Linked DNA regions of Homo sapiens: region 1 is linked to region 2. Evidence: promoter capture Hi-C in 16 types of primary human blood cells and fetal thymus (Javierre and others, 2016). All regions are on one chromosome and are shown on one strand. The core of a region is centred on a gene start or on the middle of the fragment in contact, and the rest is flanking DNA. Distances in the headings are between cores, read along the strand shown.

Region 1 (5,646 bases), core at 289-2,788, 230 kb after region 2:
GAGGAAGCCTTTGCAGCAGTCCAGCTAGCAACAGAGATAGAGAGAAAGACAAAGACTAGAGTTAGCGACAGTTTGGATGTGGAAGATAAGGGGATGAATGAAGGAAGATTCTAGGAGCTTAGGAGATTTTCCATTTAGTTATGGATTCCAAGTTAAAAAGAATTATCTTTTTTGACCAACTGATAATGTCACATTTACCTACTCAAGACACAATAAATAACCTTACTTTTCAAGCAAAACCCAAGCCACACATGGTAGCACAACCTGGTAACTTAAAAGCTGATAAAATGACACCCTATTGATGCAACAGTGGTACGCTGTATAATAAAGAATCTTATGTGGTTTTCTCACCTACAATTTCTTGAATTAAAATTTCATAGAATATACTAATGGGAAAGGAAAAATAAAAAGAAGGGAAAAGAAAAGTATTTCTTAGAAAATGTCTTATTCCTAATCCAGCGGTACTAATCAGAAATCTCTCATGAATCAAGGAGATGTGATGGGGAATGGGGATCTTCTTTAAATAACCAATTGCAAAACACCTATAATTAACTACAAGGCCTTTGTTTCCTCAAGGAAAGGTCCAAGGTAAAAAGAAAACAAAAGATATTTCAGGAAGTTGAACAGTCCTCTAGATGGATAGAATAGGCCCTGATATGGGTAATAGGACCTCAGAAGAGAAAAGACACCCCACTCCGAGAAAGAACTAGGACAGAAAGGAAGGAAATCCCCAGATGAAAGTTGCTCATGAGAATTACATAGATAGTACGCATTGCTTTGTTTCGTTTCTTTGTGCTCCTCTAATGTAAAGTAGTTCACTTGCCTTTTGAACCCCCTCAGCCTCCCCAGAAGGGAAAGTGTGGGTTTGTGTTTGTTGTTTTGTGCTGATGGCGGGGGGAGTTCTTCATGACCATGATATTTCTGAAGAACCCAGGGTGGTTGTTTGATAGAATATTCCACAATTTGAATATACCTGATTATTCACTCATTAAATTCAAGATGTTTAACAAATCTTAAATACAACATAGTTGATATTGTATCCTCGAGTTCTTCCATCGCATCAAAAGTAAAATAAAAAGTCAATTTATCCCAAACTGATAAAGCTTGATTACTTAAGATGGCATCCATTAAATTTCCTCACAGAAAGTATGCCATTTTTTCTTAGCAAATAATCTGTAGATTGATACTTTGAAACTGTGATGATCCTATATCCAAACAATTTTCACCCATTATTAAAAATGAACTTTAATGATTCTTGCTTTAGTCAATATCTACATTGTTCACTGCACAATGATTAAAAAAACATAAAGACAAAGATCTTTGCCTGTCTTCTTTGTTGTTTCTGCAGTGGCTGAAACTGCCTAAAGAATAACATGCAAAGTAAGAGTTACTAAGTAAATCTATTAGTTAATCTGAGCAGCTGTAAGTCATTATTTTTACTGCTGTAATCTATGTCACCTACAAACATACTGCAGCATTATCCATTCCACTGTGAATGAACATTCAGACTGTAACCTGTTCTATTTATATAACAATGGTCCTTTGAATATTTTTGTACTTGTTGTCTGGAACTTTGTATATGAGCTTCCTGGATCTATGTGTAAGAGCACAACTGCTGGATAGTATGAAACTCTTATAAATTCTTTATTTAAAAAGATCAAATCTATTCACTTTTCTTTATCTCAGTTATCATAATACTTAATCATAATACTTACACAAACTACCAGCAGTCCAGGACTCTTGTACTGGCCTACTAGCAGAACTCCCCACTACTACAGTTGCCCCCATCCAAGCCACATAGTGGTCAGTGAAATTTTCTTAAGGTATATATACTATTATATCTCTCTCCTGCCTACATCTTTCATGGGTTTACATTATACTACGAAAAAACCATAGACGTATAATGAAATAGAAATTATGAACCAAAGGACAGGAAGTGTGACGGGTAGAGAGACAGCATAATACAAGCTTGTTTAATCAGAACACGAGAAAGGACTATGCTAGACTTGCCCTAAGAAAACTTTTTTAAAGCCTAAAAGGCCTTAACCTAAACAAAATTAATGTACCTGCCAGACTAAACATCTATACCTTTTAAATAAAGGTAACAAAATCCAAACACACAATGTAACATTTACAATGTCTAGAATCCAATCAACAATTAAGAGATAGGTAAAGATGCAAAATGTGATTCATATCAGAAGGAAAATAGCTGACAGAAAGAAACCCAGAAATGAAGACTCTTAAAACAGTTGTTACAAATACTATTATAAGTTACAGCTATTACAAACAGGTAAAATGATTTGGAGAAAAAAATAAACATGATGAGATAAATAAGAAAAAAGCAAACATTTTAAAATTAAGTTTTTAGATATTAAAATGACTAAAAAATCCAATAATATATAAAAAGAATTATATACCATGACCAAATGGGATTTAATCCTGGTATGCAAAGCTGATTCAACATCCAAAAATCAATTAATGTAATCCATCACATTAACAGGCTAAAGAAGAAAAATCCTATGATCATATAAATAGATGCAGAAAAAGCATTTAACAAAAATCAACAATCACTGAGTTTAGCAAACTAGGAATAAAGAGAAATTTCTTGTACTTGATAAAGAATATACACAAAAAGCCTACAGTTAACATTACACTTAATGACAAGAAACTGGATGCCTTCTCCCAAAAATCAGGAAAAATACAAGAATGTCCCCTCTTACAACTCTTATTCAACATCTGACTGCAGATTCCAGCTTATGAAGTATGTTAAGAAAAGGAAATAAAGAGTAAACAGACTGGAAAGGAATAAATAGAACTGTCTTCACTAGTGGATAAGATGACTGTCTATGAAGGAATTCCAAAAAAATCAGCAATAACAACAAAATTCTTGGAACTGATAAGCAATTATAGTAAGGTTACAGAATACAAATTAATATACAAAAGATTATCACATTCCTATATACCAGCAGTGAACAACTGGAATTTGAAATTAAAATAGTGACATTTACATTAGCACTAAAGAAATAAAATAGGCATGAATCTTAAAATACATACAGTGTATCTATGAGGAAAACTACAAAACTCTGACGAAAGAAATGGATGAAAATCTAAATGTAGAGATAATCAATGTACATGGATAGGAAGATTCAATATTGTTAAGATATCAATCCTCCTCAACGTGATCTATAGGTTGAACACAATTAAAATCAAAGTCCTAGCAATTTATTTTGTAGATATCCACAAACTGATTCTAAAGTTTATATGGAAAGGAAAAGACCCAGAATAGGCATCACAATATTGAAGAAAAAGAACAAATTCAAAAGACTAACAATACCCAACTTCAAGACTTACTATAAAGCTACAGACATCAAGACAGTATGGTATTGTCTAAGACAGACAAATTACTCAAGAGCCCAGAAGTAGACCCACACAAATACAGTCAACTGAACTATGACAAAGAAGCAATGGCAATTAAATGCAGATAGTCTTTCCAAACAAAGGGTACTGGAATAACTGGATATTCATTATGCAAGAAAATTAATCTTGCCACAATCCTTATACCTTTCACAAAAATTAACTCAAAATGGATCTCAGACCTAAATATACATTGCAGAACTATAAAATTTCTAGAGAAAAAATAGAAGAACATCTAGGTGACTTTGGTTTAGCAATGAGTTTTTACATATAACACCAAAAGCACAAACCATTAAAAATTGGCACATTTAACTTCATTAAAATAAAAATTTCTGCAGCCCAAATAACATTCTTAAAAGAATAAAGACACAGCCGGGCATGGTGGCTGATGCCTGTAATCCCAGCACTTTGGGAGGCCGAGGTGGGCAGATCACCTGAGGTCAGGGGTTCGAGACCAGCCTGGCCAACATGGCAAAACCCCATCTCTACTACAAGTACAAAAAAAAAAAATTAGCCAGGCGTGGTGGCGGGTGCCCATAATCCCAGCTACTCAGGAGGCTGAGGCAGGAGGATCACTTGAACCCGGGAGGCGGAGGTTGCAGTGAGCCAAGCTCGCGCCACTGCACTCCAGCCTGGGCAACAAGAGTGAGACTCCATCTCAAAAAAAAAGAATAAAGACATAAGTTCTAGACTGGGAGAAAATATTTACAAAACCCATACCTAAGAAAGAACTTGTATCCAAAATACACAGAGCTCTTAAAACTCAACCAGGAAACAAACCACCCAATTGAAAAATTAACAAAAGATTTGAAGAGACATCTCAATAAAAAAGAAACACAGATAGCAAATAATAGCATGAAAAGATGCTCAATATTATATGTCATGAGGGAACTGCAAACTGAAACTATGAGATACTACTATGTGCCTATTAGAATGGCTAAAATCCAAAACACTGACAACACTAAATGTTGCCAAAGATGAAGGACACCTGAAGGAATGTCTCCAAGTTGAAATTTCTATAGCAAGCACTGAAACAATAGAAATAGAGTATAAAATTTCCAACATAGTGGAGGGAGGAATGGGAAGGGGACATAAAATAAGAACAAGAGACATTTTTTTTAAAGTCGTCATCAAAAAGAAGCCAAGAAAGAAAACAGAATCCAAAGAATGGAACAAACAAAACCCCCAAAAAGTAGATTATATAAATAAATCAAAATATAATTTTAAATACAATAAATATAAATGGACTAAACTCTCCAGCTAAAAGACAAGCTCCAGCAGGCTGAATAGAAAAACAATAAAATAAAAATCCAGTCCAAATTTAGATGTGCACTTACAAGAGACACACCTAAAACAACAGTTCACTGGCAGATGAAAAAGATAAAGAATGATACAAGGATAAAACAAAAATAAGCTTGTTTAGGAATATTAATATCATAATTAGACTTGAAAACAAAAATTGGTCATTATGTTTTGATAGCCAAGGAAACACGATACACTGTAATACACCTATTATCTAAACAGGGACAAAACCTAACGAGCAAGGAAAAATTGGAAAATCACTTTTTCAAATATAGGTCCATCAGATATCCAAAAACATCACAAAAAGGCTGGATGTGGTGACTCATGCCTATAATCCCAGCACTTTGGGAGGCCGAGGTGGGCGGATTACTTAAGGTTAGGAGTCCGAGACCAGCCTGGCCAACATGGTGAAACCTCATCTCTACTAAAAATACAAAAAAATTAGCCAGGTGTGGTGGCAGGCACCTGTAGTCACAGCTACTCGGGAGGCTGAGGCAGGAGAATTGCTTGAACCCGGGAGGCAGAGGTTGCAGTGAGCCCAGATTGTGCCAATGCACTCCAGCCTAGGTGACAGAGCGAGACTTTGTCTCAAAAAAAAAAAAAAAAGGCCGGGCACGGTGGCTCACACCTGTAATCCCAGCACTTTGGGAGGCAGAGGCGGGCAGATCATGAGCTCAGGAGATCAAGACCATCCTGGCTAATATGGTGAAACCTCGTCTCTACTGAAAATACAAAAAATTAGCCGGGCGTGGAGGCAGGCACCTGTAGTCCCAACTACTTGGGAGGCTGAGGCAAGAGAACGGTGTGAACCTGGGAGGGGAGCTTGCAGTGAGCCGAGATCATGCCACTGTACTCCCGTCTGGGCGACAGAGTGAGACTCTGTCTCAAAAAAAAAAAAAAAAAAAACCCACACAGGCTGGGCGCAGTGGC
Region 2 (5,625 bases), core at 517-3,016:
CCAAAGTGCTGGGATTACAGGCGTGAGCCACTGCACCCGTGGCATGCACCTGTAATCCCAGCAACTCGGGAGGCTGAGGCAGGAGAATCGCTTGAACCCAGGAGGTGGAGGTTTCAGTGAGCTGAGACTGCACCATTGCATTTCAGCTTGGGGAACGAGCGAACGCTCTCTCAAAACAAACAAACAAAAAACCAAAACAAAAAACCTTGTTATGTCAATAAGAGTATTTCTAAGTGGGTTAGCAGCTCCCTGACAGGCTACCTCTCCAGCCTTCCCAGGCCCACCCATCCTTGGTTCCCTCTCTAGCCTCACAAGACAGCGCTCTTCTCATCACACTCAGGCATTTCACTGGAGCCCCTGATCTCGCTTTGCCCTCCTCTCTTGGAGCCTGCCTCATCAACTGTCCTCTCTTCCCTCTCTATTGGCCCCTTCTCTTCATCCTGAAAGTCAACCTGAGTCATTCCAATCAACAAATTCTCTCTCGACTCTGCATCCCTCCTGGCTACTGCCTTCTGACCTGACCCATGTTCTCCACACAGTCCTCTGCTCTAGCTGCTGCAACCACACTTGCACTCACGACCAAACCAGCCCTACGTGGCTATCGCCACCACTGTTCTTCCTAACTGACAAGCTGTCTCAGGTACCCACAGGTTAGATATTTCAGGGGAAATGACTGTTACAGAAATGTTCATGTTAGAATGAAGAAACAGATCAATACACATCAATCATATTAAAAAGGTGCTTCTAAGACAAAGCATATATTATTTTTATTATTCATATTCAATATTTTAGGAATTAAAGCAACGATGTTTCTGCAAATTTATGGTTTTGAATTGATGGTACGTTGTAATAATGCATAGATAGGGTCTGCCTGAGCTTTCACCCCAGGAACTGTAAACTTTATATTACAGTAGTCCCCCCTTATCCAAGGTTTTAGCTTTCCAAGGTTTCATTTACCTGTGGTCAACCATGGTCCAGAAACATTATATGGAAAATTCCAGAAATAAACAATGTATAAGTTTTAAATTGTGAGTCATTCTGAGTAGTGTGAGGAGATCTTGTGCTGTCCTGCTCCATCCTGCCTGGGTCATAAACCCTCTCTCTCGGGGTCCAGCATCTCCACGCTGTAGACACCCCCACCACCAACCAGTCACTTAGTGGCCATCTCAGTTACCAGATCTACTGTCAGGGGGTCTCAGTGCTTAGGTTCCTTTTTTATTTTTGAGACAGAGGCTGGCTCTGTCGCCCAGGCTGGAGTGCAGTGGCATGATCTTGGCTCGCTGTAACCTCCACCTCCTGGGCTTAAGCCATGCTCCCACCTCAGCCTGCCGAGTAGCTGGGACTACAGGTATGTGCCACCGTGACCGGTGAATTTTTGTGTTTTTTGTAGAGGCAGAGTTTTGCCATGTTGCCCAGGCTAGTCTCAAACTCCCGAGCTCAAGTGATCCACCTGCCTTGGACTCCCAAAATGCTGGGATTACAGGTGTGAGCCACTGTGCCTGGCAGGAACTATTATTTGACTTCACAATGGCCTCAAAGTTCCAAGAGTATGATGCTGGCAATCTGGATATGCCAAAAACCAGCCATGAAGTCCTTCCTTTAGTTAAAAGGTGAAAGTTCTCAAGAAAAAAAAAAGTATGCTGAGATTGCTAAGATCTACAGTAAGAATCAATCTTCTATCCATGAAATTGTGAAAAAGGACAAAGAAATTTGTGCTAGTTTTGCTGCTGTACCTAAAACTACAAAAGTTACAGCCACAGTGTGGGCTAAGTGCCGAGCTGAAATGGAAAAGGCATTAAAGGCAAGCGTATACAGGGTTCGGTCCCATCCGCAGTCTTAGGCATCCCCTGGGGATTTTGACATGGATCCCCCGTGGAGAAGGGGGGCTACTGTACAGTACACTTCCCTTCAGCAAGCCGCATATTCAAGTTCTCTATTTCAGATTCCCCTTCGTGACTGTCATGCAGGAAGCAAAGAAAACCCATTGTGTCCAAGGAAATTTTTACTTTCTCTAGGGATTCAGAAACCTGACTTTCTGATACTCAGAAACTCAGTGCGCATGGGTGAGAAGGCTCGGTAGGGAAGAGGTGCTTTGTAGCTCAGGATCTGCTGGAGCTGAGGGCGTTTTTTGGTTTAATCTAGTTTCACTGTGTGTTTCATGGAGAGGTTCCTCTAGGAACAAAAGGTTCTATGGAAGTCACGTCCTTTATCCCTCTTAGCCATCCCTGTGTCTGCCTTAGCCAACCTCCCATTTGTAAAAAGAAAGCAGAGACCAGGCTATGGCTGAATAGTTTCAGACAGCCCCTATACCACTGTCAGCCTTTGCAAAGTGTAATGCTTTAATTACAAGGGTCACACAAGGTCTTAAGACACAGGAGTCCCTGTGTCTGAACGTAATCACTGTGTATGCGTCTCAGCCTAATGAGGAGGTGACTATCATGAAGGTCTGGTGGTGAAGATCTTGCAAGAAGGTGCCTTGTTTGAGATCTTTCAAGGAAACACAGTACTCAATAAATGTGGGTGAGTAGAAATTACAATTTAGTTGGGTTAATTTTTGGTAGTAATATGGAGCTTTGCAAAGAGAAAGGCATTTGCTGAAGACACTGGTAAAATATGTGCTGAAGCTCTGCCTCATCTAGTCTGGTTCAAAAGTCAAATATCAAAGAGTCAAGAGACCCTCCTATTCAGAAGAAAGCCCTGACTTGTTAATTTATTAGAAGCAAGAGTAAATGCTCCATAGGTTTTTCATTAAATAAAATTAGATCTAGTCCCAGGGCTTTTCTGTAATGGGTGCTCCTGAGTCAGGAATCAAGACCCATGAAGTAAGAAAAGAACAGGTAGGCAAGGGGGTACCTTCTCCTCTAACAAAAGTGGCCTATCAGATGGTCAGGGAGTCTCTATCAGTGGAGCCAAACCAGCTCCACTGACACAGTTAAAGACCCTTGCCATCAAGTGCAAAGGGAAGCAGTAGGACTTAGAGTAGGCCATTTCCTACTAAAAATGGAATCATTTTTCAGTTCGGTGTACAGTTGAGCCTTGAGCAACATGGATTTGAACTGCATGGGGCCACTTAAATGTGCATTTTCTTATGACTCCGCTGCTCTTGAGACAGCAAGATCAAGCCCCCTCCTCCTCAGCCAACTCAACGTGAAGACAATGAAGATCAAGATCTTTAAGATGATCCACTTCCACTTAATGAATAATAAATATATTTTGTCGTTATGATTTTCCTAACACTTTCTCTAGCTTACTTTATTGCAGGAATACAGTATATAATCATGTAACATACCAAATACGTGCTAAATGACTGTATGTTATTGGTAGGACTTCTGGTCAGCAGTAGGCTACTAGCAGTTACATTCTGGGAGAGTCAGAAGGTATCCGTAGATTTCTGACTGCACAGGGTTGATATCCCTAGCCCCCATATTGTTCAAGGGCCCACTGTATCTAGGACGTTGGTCAGCACACTTGTACCCCATCAGAATCTCTCAGGAGTCTTCCCTGTGCCACACTCAGTGATTCCCTCATTACAAGATTAGGCATCCCTGTGATGAATGGGCTTTCATTTTGGTTTTTATTTTTGAGTAACCAGCAGGAGTTTACCTGGGATTTGAGGAATGGATAACATGACCTTTTTTCCCAGTATATAAAGGGCTTTACCTAAAAGGGCCCAGCTATTTCTTTAATAAAAGTGAGTAGTGGGGCTATGACTGATGATTATCTGTCAGAGAATAAGTGGGATTATTGTGTTTTTAGGTAACGTCCCAGAAACTGTGGCTGTCCCTTACCCTGAGTGAGAAGGTTCTGGTGCATGCAGAGTCAAATTGTGTGTTTCTATCCCTCTGAACCCTGTGCAGAGAGAAAAGTTGGTCAGCTTCCATTTCTCTTGGCTTACCAGTTCTAGTACCAAGAATTCTGTTACTATAATATGAGGAGCCCCATTCTTTCCTTTTTATAGTAGAAAAAGCAATTCTACTAGGCTTATCCAGAAAGGCATGCTAGAAGCAACTCCCTTAAGCCAGCCTAGCAGGATTTCCAGGACGAGTGTTCATGCCCCAGGGCTGCTTAGGAGGTGAGGAGTCACTCCCAGGGTGACCGCTCCTGAGGCCGCTACAGTACGCCTGGCTGTGAAGAGGCAGGCGAGCCCTCCTGACCAGGCAATTTCCTCCTCATCATGGCGTCGAGGGTAACAGCAGCAGCTCCTGGAAGCTGTTGCCTCCTCCTATGAGAACTAAGTCAGAGGCTGAGAGTGTGCTGGGGGAGGGGACACAGGTCTTCCCACCTCTCAGTCGGGGACCTCCCCAGGTACCCAGGGAAGGGGTGGGGCCTCCCAGGCACCCGCCCAGCATCAAGAAGAGGGCTGAGAAGCTACAGTTCCAGAGTGGGAGGGAAAGGACACTCGCCAGAGCAGGCTGATCCCAGAGCCCCAAACTCCTCTGGTGTCCACTTGGGCCCAGGAAGGGAGACAGTTGTCAGGGCTCTGGTCTGACCCACTGACCACAGGCCACAATGGCGACAGACCGCTCCTCAGAGGATTCAAAACTTTTCTCTGGAGGAGACAAGACTAGGTTGTTGAAGACAGACAATTTCCTGGATCAAGGGGAAAAAAAATCCACAGAAAAATAAATATGTCCTCAGACCTACCATTCCTCTTCAGGGTAAAATGCAATGAATTGCGGGCTTCTGAGCTAACAAGGCCAAGTTAGGCCAAGGGCAGTTCACAGCTGATCATTTGCTAAGAAACAAAAGCCTAAAAGGCCCGATTAGCTCGAGCTCGCCACATCCAGCAACAACCTGGAGCGGCCGTCAGCGCAGGGCTGGGTACTGCCCGCGGCCACAGGCCTTGTCAGGTGCAGGTGGCCAGCTGTTCCTCATGCTCTGCAGACGGGACAAGAAGGGCTGCATTCAATCCAGGGAAGGTAGAGGCTTCTTTCTTTCCCAGGAGCCAAGGAGACAGTCACATGAAGAGGCTGAGAAATCAGGACTCAGGGGTGAAGGGTAACTCTGCCACTGCCCACAGGAGAACACACGCTTCATAGGGCTCACCCCATCATTTTATTTGTTTATAGTATTCCTGAGATTTCCCTACCGTATACTGTCCAAACTTGCTATTCAACAAGGATTACCACAGTTCTTTTTAGGAACAATCCTTGCTACAGTACTCTCTGGATGATTTAAACAATTATTTCTTAACAACTCTCTTCCCATCATCCACAGGGTCACTGCCTTGCCCCTAAAGCCGCCGTCTCTCACCTGCACTACCCGAATGAGCACTGAGAACTTAAAGCTGTATAATATCAAATCATTAACATGCAGAAAATAGTATAACTTTCAGTAGTATTTTCTTATTCACTGAATTTCCAACAGGAATTAGAAACTCCACATCTAACTTAGTTGCCTTGAGGAAGCAGCTATGGCAACCAGAAAGTTCCCAGGATCCTGTCTCCTAAAGGTAAATAAAACTTTACTCTTAGGTGTGAAATATTTCCACACTGCTAGTTATTGAGTGGTAACATTGTGCCAGGAACTGTACTAAGTGTTATGCATGCACCAACTCATTTAATTCTCACTGTCGCCAATGAGGTAGATGGTACAATCACTCTCATTTTACAGACCCAGAAACTG

What was found. The method cuts DNA at HindIII sites, captures the fragments that hold promoters and counts their contacts. A CHiCAGO score of 5 or more calls a contact.
Region 1: a fragment that was not itself captured here is called in contact with the fragment with the promoter of PCCA-AS1 in region 2 in 2 of 17 cell types (M2 macrophages and M1 macrophages); the score reaches 5.5 in M2 macrophages.

Annotation. Positions count from the first base shown.
Region 1 is chr13:100,247,192-100,252,837 of GRCh38, reverse strand. The region is part of intron 8 of PCCA (propionyl-CoA carboxylase subunit alpha); the gene reads right to left. Among named protein-coding and RNA genes, the nearest start is that of PCCA, 160 kb to the right of the region's middle. The HindIII fragment of the contact is 865 bases long and covers 1,106-1,970 here.
Region 2 is chr13:100,477,156-100,482,780 of GRCh38, reverse strand. It overlaps PCCA-AS1 (PCCA antisense RNA 1), which reads left to right and starts at 1,766. Exons shown (of 5, transcript NR_047686.1): 1 at 1,766-1,801; 2 at 5,368-5,452. All of the region lies in intron 21 of PCCA (propionyl-CoA carboxylase subunit alpha), which reads right to left. It overlaps LOC107984574 (a long non-coding RNA gene), which reads left to right and starts at 1,574. Exons shown (of 3, transcript XR_007063850.1): 1 at 1,574-1,661; 2 at 2,351-2,520; 3 at 3,018-3,234. The HindIII fragment of the contact is 6,979 bases long and covers 1-5,625 here.